Linked DNA regions of Homo sapiens: region 2 is linked to region 1. Evidence: promoter capture Hi-C in human tissues and cell types (Jung and others, 2019). All regions are on one chromosome and are shown on one strand. Each heading gives the region's core, a stretch centred on a gene start or on the middle of the fragment in contact. The rest is flanking DNA. Distances are from core to core; before and after follow the strand shown. Region 1 holds the start of LOXL4 (lysyl oxidase like 4). Region 2 overlaps HPS1 (HPS1 biogenesis of lysosomal organelles complex 3 subunit 1).

Region 1 (3,772 bases), core at 948-3,447:
ATTCCTTGAGGACAAGATAGGAAGCACCTCTGGCTTGTCTGTATCACCTTGGGGACCAGAAACTGGCACGCACCGCTAGGTCCATTTATTCAATCCGTGAGCACTTCTGGAGCACTTGCTATGTGTCAAGCTCTGTGACAGGATCTGGGTTTAGAGATAAATAAGAAGCTCGGGGGTGGGTGGGGGTGTCCAGAGTTAAGGCAGACACAGACCATTATATAAAGAGTATGGAGAGGGTCACAGGCGCTGGGCTGAGGCCGGGTGAACATAGCCAGGCAGGAGGGAAGAAGAGGGCTTTCTCAATCAAATGAAAGCTGATTGAGATGAATCCAGTGGTCCCATCTGACCCCTACAGCAATCACATTTAAGGATGAGGAGATGACAACTCAGCCGAGAAAATCCCACTGTTAGTACGCCATGGGCTGGGGCTGGGACCAGAGCCCCTCACTTCTCAGGGTTGGGGGCTCACAGCGCATGCCTTAGAGATCCCCACTTCCACTGCTTCCCAGCCTTGGCCTCTGCCCAGAGTTGTGCAAATTAAAGGACTTCCGGGCAACATCCATTCATTCCCTGGTCTCTATCCTCCGCCCGCCCCTGCGCTCCAGGGTATTTTTAGTTCTGGGCAGCCAGGCCTGGTGAGTGATTGGCAGCAGGCAGAGCCCACGTTTCCGAACCCTCTGTGTTGCTTCTGGCTCAGCATGAGAGGTGGCTGGGCCCTAGGAGAGGGCTTAGGCATACCTGGCACCCAAGCCCACAGCTGCCTCATTGTCCCTGGGGGAGGAGCTGGGCTGCTGCCACTGACCCGAGGCTGGGAGCATTCTTTCCTGCTGATTCATCATGGGGAATGTTTTGGGCCCAGCTGGGGTGGGGCAGGGGCACTGGGGGGACATCTTGGACACGGGCAGCCAGGAGTGGATGGCAGGTCCCTGGCAGCAGGGTCATTAAGACCTGGCTGTCACCCAGGATCGAAAAGGTCCATCTTGACATCCTAGCTCTATCACACTCTGCCTGTCCAGGCTTATTCTTACTTGCACATCTGCCTCCCCCACCAGACTGGGAAGGCCCCCTCCAGCGTCTAGCACTCCAGCACCCTGTCTAGCATGTAGGAGAAAATCAATAAAGGCTTGTGGGATGAATGAACCTTTGGAAGGACGTTTAGGCAAGGTGGGGGCAAGAGGGGGAACCAGGTTGGGCAGCTGTGGGCCTAGGGAGGAAACCGGGAGGCTGGAACCCTCTGCCCATTTTACAGATGGGGCCAGTGAGGCTAAGGGCAGGACCAGGTCTAGGGGAAAGAAACTGGGGGCTTGGACTGGGGTTCAGGCACCTAGGTGCTCAGTTCAGCTGATGGGACTCCTCTCTGTCAGCCATGTCCACATTTCTTTAATTCTACAGTCCCTGCTCCCTGCACTAACACCCTCCTCCCGTGAGTCTGACAAGGGCCAGGACTGCATCATTCAGCTCTGTGAAGGGGTTCTCCCATTCACTGTGTATTGCCTGGAGGAGCAAGTTATGTCGCCTGGGGCTCAGTGTTCCCAGCTGCACAATGGGCAGCGCAGAGTTTCACACGGAGGGCGGGGGGGGGGGGGGGGGCGGTATTCAGTAAACTCTGGGTGACTCGCCTGTTCCTGCAGGAGAGCACCGCTGCACCGCGCCACCTCGACCTCTCTGAACTGAGCCCCGGCCTCCCAGAAAGGGCGTCTACATTGTCCTAAGTGACCGAGCTCGTGAGATTCGGCCCCTGTGACAGCCGGGCGCTCCCGTGCGAAGGGTGCTGTGCCGGGGGCCCTGGCACCCACCAGGACTCACAGACTGGGACTCTAGGTGGGCGTCATTACCTTGTTCTGCAAAAGAGGAAACTGCCTGGGAGAGGGACTCCCGAGGCCGCCGCGGCCCTCCCTGCAAAACAGCCGCGGGCCCAGCGCCGCCCTTTCCCGAGAGCTCCGCTCCCCGCGACCCCCCGCCGCCCCCCCGCTCCCCCCGCCCCCCGGGACTTCCCGGCCCCGCCGGCTGCGGCTGGGCGCCCCCGCCACCTGGCCTGTGTCCCGACGGGGGGCGCCGCGCGGAAGGCCGGGCGGGGCGCCCGCGGACTCCAGGCCCGCCCGGGGCGGGGCCTGCGGGGCCTCCTCCGCGGCCAGCTCGGGGCTGGGGGGCCGCGGGCGGGAGGCGGATAAAAAGGCCCCAGGGCGCCCGGGGAGGGAGCCCGTTAGCGCTGCTCCGCCGCGGCGCCCGCCCAGCCCCGGACTGTCCGCGCTCCATCTGGTGAGCCCCCGCCTGGCCGCGCGTCTGCCTCTTGGTCTGCCTCTTGCTGTCCCATCTGTCCTTCTGTCTCTCTGTGAGTCTGCAGGCCTCTGAGGGTTCCTGGAGACTGGGCCTAGGGTGCATGGGGGATCCCTTGGACCCTCAGCCCGGCCCTCCAGTCGCTCACCAACCTGCTTCCAACTGGACAAGTGACCACGCTGGGGAGCTTGGCCCAAGGCCCGCCCTGAGTGGTGCGCCCAGGCCTCAGGGGTGCCTGCGTGTCTTGTTTGTGTACACGCCGTGTGTAACCATTGCTCTGCCTTCTTCCAGGGAGGAGACAGGGAAGGGGCAAGGCGGGTTCAGATGTCACACTTACGACTTGGGGGACAACGAACCAGGGCTGATCTGGGCTCTCCAACTATCCAGACCGGAGCTGATTATGTTGGGGGGTCGGCGTGTGACAGAAACACCGAAGGGAAGGGGGCAGAAGACTTCAAGCCCCCTCTTTCCTAGCCTGGACAGGTACAGCTCAGAGACCATTTGTTGGCACTGCTTCAGGTCCACAGAGTCAGTAACCCCGGGGAGGCTACAGGGCTGAGAGGAGGCTGCTGAGAAGAGCTGCCCAACGGCAGAGAAGGGATGAGCCATCCTAAAGTTGCTGCACCCTCAGGACAGCACCCCCCATGCTCTCTCTTGAATACTCGGGCATTTGCTGTCTTCAGCCCTCCCTACCTGCGCTAGGTCAGGCCAGGTCCCAGCATCTCCTGGCACACCTGGAGCAGGTGCCTCTGTGCCTCAAGCTGGCAAGATCTTGGATCTGTCACTCGGCATTCAGCGAAGAGCACCCTGCCCAGTGCCCTCACACCACGGCCTGGGTCATAAATCCACCAGAACAGGGTGGAATTTCAGTCGGCTCCCGGCCTTCCTTTCCTCCTCCCCCTCTTCCAACATCCATTCTTGGTGGTTTTGAGAGTCCGGCGTCTAGCCAGGCTGCTTGGGTTTGAATCCTGGCTGGGCAAGTTACTTGACTTCCCTGGACCTTACCTTCTCATCTGTAAAATGGAGATAAGTATTTAATCCGTATTTTAAAATGTATAGTTATTATCCTCACTTCCCTCCCCTCCTCTTTCCCTTCCACCTTCCTTCCCTCTTCTGTCCCCTTCTCCTTTATTTGGGAAAGTAACGGCCACTTTCGAGGCCGCTTCCTTCTCTGAGGGAGGATGCACAGCTTGGTCCTCTGTGCTCAGTGCTAGGGGAACAGACAGGTGGAGTCTGGTTGTGGGGTCAGGAAGCAAACACACAATGTGCTTTGTGGAAGGCTTTGTGGGAGGGCTTAATGGAGGGGGTGGCATTTGAGCTGGCCTTGTGGGATGTGTAGGAGTTTAACAGTCTTAGATAGAGGGAAAGGAACAGTGAGAGCAAAGGCTTGGAGGCTGGGAGACGAAGGCTATAGTCTGGTGTGAGCAAAAGCTCTCGGGGGCCTATAGTGGGCAGGAAGGCCAATAAGAGGGACTCTCCCTGCATCTAACTCTTG
Region 2 (3,760 bases), core at 612-3,111, 170 kb before region 1:
TCACCTGAGACAAGGCAAGTCCCTTCCACCTATGACCCTGTAAAATAAAAAACAAGTTACTTCCAAGACACAATGGGGGTATAGGCATTGGGTAAATGTTCCCATTCCAAATGGGAGAAATTGGAACTATGGGGCTACAGGACCCATGCAAGTCCAAAATCCAGTGGGGCAGTCAAATCTTAAAGCTTTGAAATGATCTCCTTTGACTCTATCCACGTCCAGGTCACACTGATACAAGAGGTGGGCTCCCAAGGCCTTGGGCAGCCCTACCCCTGTGCTTCTGCAGGGCACAGTCCTCTTCCCAGCTGTTTTCACAGGCTGGTGTTGAGTGTCTGCGGCTTTTCCAGGTGCATGGTGCAAGCTGTCGGTGGATCTACCATTCTGGGGGCTAGAGGATGATGGCCCTATTCTTACAGCTCCACTAGGCAATGCCCCAGTGGGGACTCTGTGTGGAGGTGTCTGACCCCACATTCCCTTAATCACTCTAGCAGAGGTTCTCCATGAGGGCTCTGCCCCTGTAGCAAATTTCTGCCTGGACATCCTGCCATTTCCATACATCCTCTGAAATCTAGGTGGAGGTTCCCAAACCTCAGTTTTTGATTTATGTGCACCCGTGGGCCCAATACCACATGTAGGTCACCAAAGCTTGGGGCTTGCACTGTCTGAAACAACAGCCAGAGCTATATGTTGGCACCTTTTAGCCATGGCTAGGACGCAGGGCACCATGTCCCCAGAGTGCACAAAGCAGCAAGGCCCTGGGCCCAACCCCTGAAACAGTTTTTTCTTCCTAGGCCTCCAGGCCTGTGGCGAGAGGGCCTGCTGTGAAGACCTCTGACAGGCCCTGGAGACATTTTTCCCATTGTCTTGGTGATTAACGTTTGGCTCTTCATTATTTATGCAAATTTCTGCAGCCAGGGCTTGAATTTCTCCTCAGAAAATGGGCTTTTCTTTTCTATTGCATCATCAGGCTGCACATTTTCCAAACTTTTATGTTCTGCTTCCCTTTTAAACATAAGTCCCAATTCCAAACCATCTATTAGTGAATGCATAAAACTGAGTGCTTTTTAGAGCACCCAAGTCACTCCCTGAATGCTTTGCTACCTAGAAATTTCTTCCACCCCAAATCATCTCTCTCAAGTTCAAAGTTGCACAGATCTCTAGGGCAGGGGCAAAATGCTGCCGGTCTCTTTGCTAAAGCATAACAAGAGTCACCTTTGTTCCAGTTCCAAATAAGTTCCTCATCTCCATCTGAGACTACCTCAGCCTGGACTTCATTGTCCATATCACTATCAGAATTTTGTTCAAAAGCATTCAATGAGTCTCTGGGAAGTTCCAAACTTTCCCACATCTTCCTGTTTTCTTCTGAGCCCTCCATACTGTTCCAACCTCTGCCTGTTACCCAGTTTCAAAGTCACTTTCACATTTTTGGGTATCTTTATAGTAGCACCTCACTCTCTGTGGTACCAATTTACTGTGTCAGTCCGTTTTCGTACCACTATAAAGAACTGCCTGAGACTGGGTAATTTATAAAGAAAAAAGGTTTAATTGACTCACAGTTCAGCATGGCTGGGGAGAACTCAGGAAACTTACAGTCGTGGTGGAAGGCAAAGGGGAAACAAGGCACCTTCTTCGCAAGGCAGCAGGAAGAAGTGTCAAGAAAAGTGGGGAAGAGCCCCTTATAAAACCATCAGATCTGGTGAGGACTCACTCATTTTCATGAGAACAAGTTGAGAACAGCCTGGGGGAACCACCCCCATGATTCAGTTATCTCCACCAGGTCTCCCTTGACACGTGGGGATTATGGGGATTACAAGTCAAGATGAGATTTGATGGGGACACAAAGCTTAACCATGTCATCCCCTCACCAAAAAAAAGTTCTATTCCTGCAGAAAAAGCTATAGTCATGCCCTGCTTAATGATGGTGATACATTCTGTTAATAACAAACTCATCATTAGGTGATTTCCTTGTCATGTGAACATCATAGTGTGTGCTTACACAAACCTAGATGGTGTAGCCAACTACACACCTAGGCTGTACAGTATGGCCTGTTGCTCCTAGGCTGCAAACCTACAGCATGTGACTGTACTGAATACTGCAGGCAGTTGTAACACAATGGAAATGTTTGTGTATCTGAATGAACATAGAGAAGGTATAGCAAAAATAAAGCAGTATAATCTTATGGGGCCACTATCATGCGTGGTCTGTTGCTGACCAAAACATTGCTCTTCAGTATGTGACTATACTGCTTTTACGATGAGTTTCTATCAACATCTAGATTCATAAGTGACTTCTCTATTAATAAAATTTGTTCAAGAAAATCATGGTATATGAATAATTCAGCAAATATTTGAATTCTTGCCTGTTTATGGAATTCTCGCCTATCTGTGGGGTATTCATTAACCAAATATTAATTGGGAACCTACCATGTGCCAGTCTCTCGGGGTAAAGCAGTAAACGTAGCAACATGATCCTTGCTTTCATGGAACTTAGAGTCTAAAGAAGGACATTGTACAGTGAACCAGATGGCAAATAAGTACCATGAGTTCAGATAGTGACAAATAGTCTGGAGAAGTTAAATGGGGTATGGGATGGGGAGTGACAGAGGTGGAGGGCGGTAGCCTGAGGTGGCCAGAAAAAAAAAAATCTGAGCTGGAACCAGAATGATAAGTAGGAGCCACTGTGAAAGCTGGACAGACTAACTGTGGGAGCTGGGTACAGTCCTTGGTTCCCGAATGTTGGCAGGAAAACCTACTCCATAGTGCTGTGTCCCACTTGTACTTCAATGCTGCACCTTCCCGCTGGCCAGTTGCCTGTCTTTCTTTTCAAGGCAAGGTCTTACTCAGCTTCTTGTAGACTTCCCCAGCTCCAAGTTAGGACTGTGCCTTCCCCATATTTCATTCACGTCTCCTGAAATCTTCTTGGGAAGTCTGCTGTTTTCTTCCTTTCTTTTTATTCCACTACGGAGAATTTGAGTTGTAACTGTTCCACTGGCTTTATCCCATTTTATTCACACATTTGCAACAAACTTGTCCAGTTCCTTTTTGTTTTTGTTTATTTGTTTTGTTCCTTCTTTTGGAGAGCTGAGAGAATGGATGGAGGAAGAGCTTATCAAAGTCAATGCAGGCTTGTTATGGAAAATAGGAAAAGTACAGAAACATACTTAAAAATAGAGGGAAAAAAATCACTCCTAATTCCTCTATCCAGAAGTAACTTTAATAGTGTTGGCTTTCTCAGTATTTTATCAATACTTCGTTTTTTCTATGCATTCACATTCTTGTTTTATTTTTAGCTACAACATTGTATCAGAGGAATTTTCCATGTCATTGAAACACTCTAATATTTTAAGTGGCTATAGACCCTTCCATAATTTTGATGTGCTGCTATTTATTTAACTATTTCCCTGATACTAGATGTTAACATTTTTTTTCCAGTTGTTTGCTATTATAAATTAGGCAGTAGTGAACATCTTTGTGCATGTATCTTTGTCCCAATCTCTGATCATTTTCCTTAGGACAAATTTTCCAAAGTAGACTTATTGCAAAAAACAGCATAGACTTTGGTACATGCTACAAACTTCCTTCCAGCTCCCCGTTCAGTGCTCCCCACATTCCACTGTTGTAATGAGGCCCAATTCCTTAATGTTTCCTTCTAGATTCAGAGCCTAAACAGCACCATTACCCAGCTGGCCCTCCCCATTCTTCCTAACCACCACCCGAAGTGTTGGGGACAGTCTCTTTTTGCTCCCCTCCCTACCAGGAC

Evidence for each region. The method cuts DNA at HindIII sites, captures the fragments that hold promoters and counts their contacts. A contact is called where the count stands out against the background at its distance.
Region 2: a contact is called between a fragment that was not itself captured here and the fragment with the promoter of LOXL4 in region 1, in 1 of the 25 tissues and cell types used here (mesenchymal stem cells).

The regions. Positions count from the first base shown.
Region 1 is chr10:98,266,619-98,270,390 of GRCh38, reverse strand. It overlaps LOXL4 (lysyl oxidase like 4), which reads left to right and starts at 2,197. Exons shown (of 15, transcript NM_032211.7): 1 at 2,197-2,259. It overlaps LOC124902489 (a long non-coding RNA gene), which reads right to left and starts at 1,949. Exons shown (of 2, transcript XR_007062260.1): 1 at 1-1,949. RefSeq lists enhancers at 2,250-2,749, 2,750-3,251. The HindIII fragment of the contact is 18,964 bases long and covers 1-3,772 here.
Region 2 is chr10:98,435,898-98,439,657 of GRCh38, reverse strand. All of the region lies in intron 3 of HPS1 (HPS1 biogenesis of lysosomal organelles complex 3 subunit 1), which reads left to right. Among named protein-coding and RNA genes, the nearest start is that of MIR4685, 6.4 kb to the right of the region's middle. The HindIII fragment of the contact is 6,299 bases long and covers 1-3,760 here.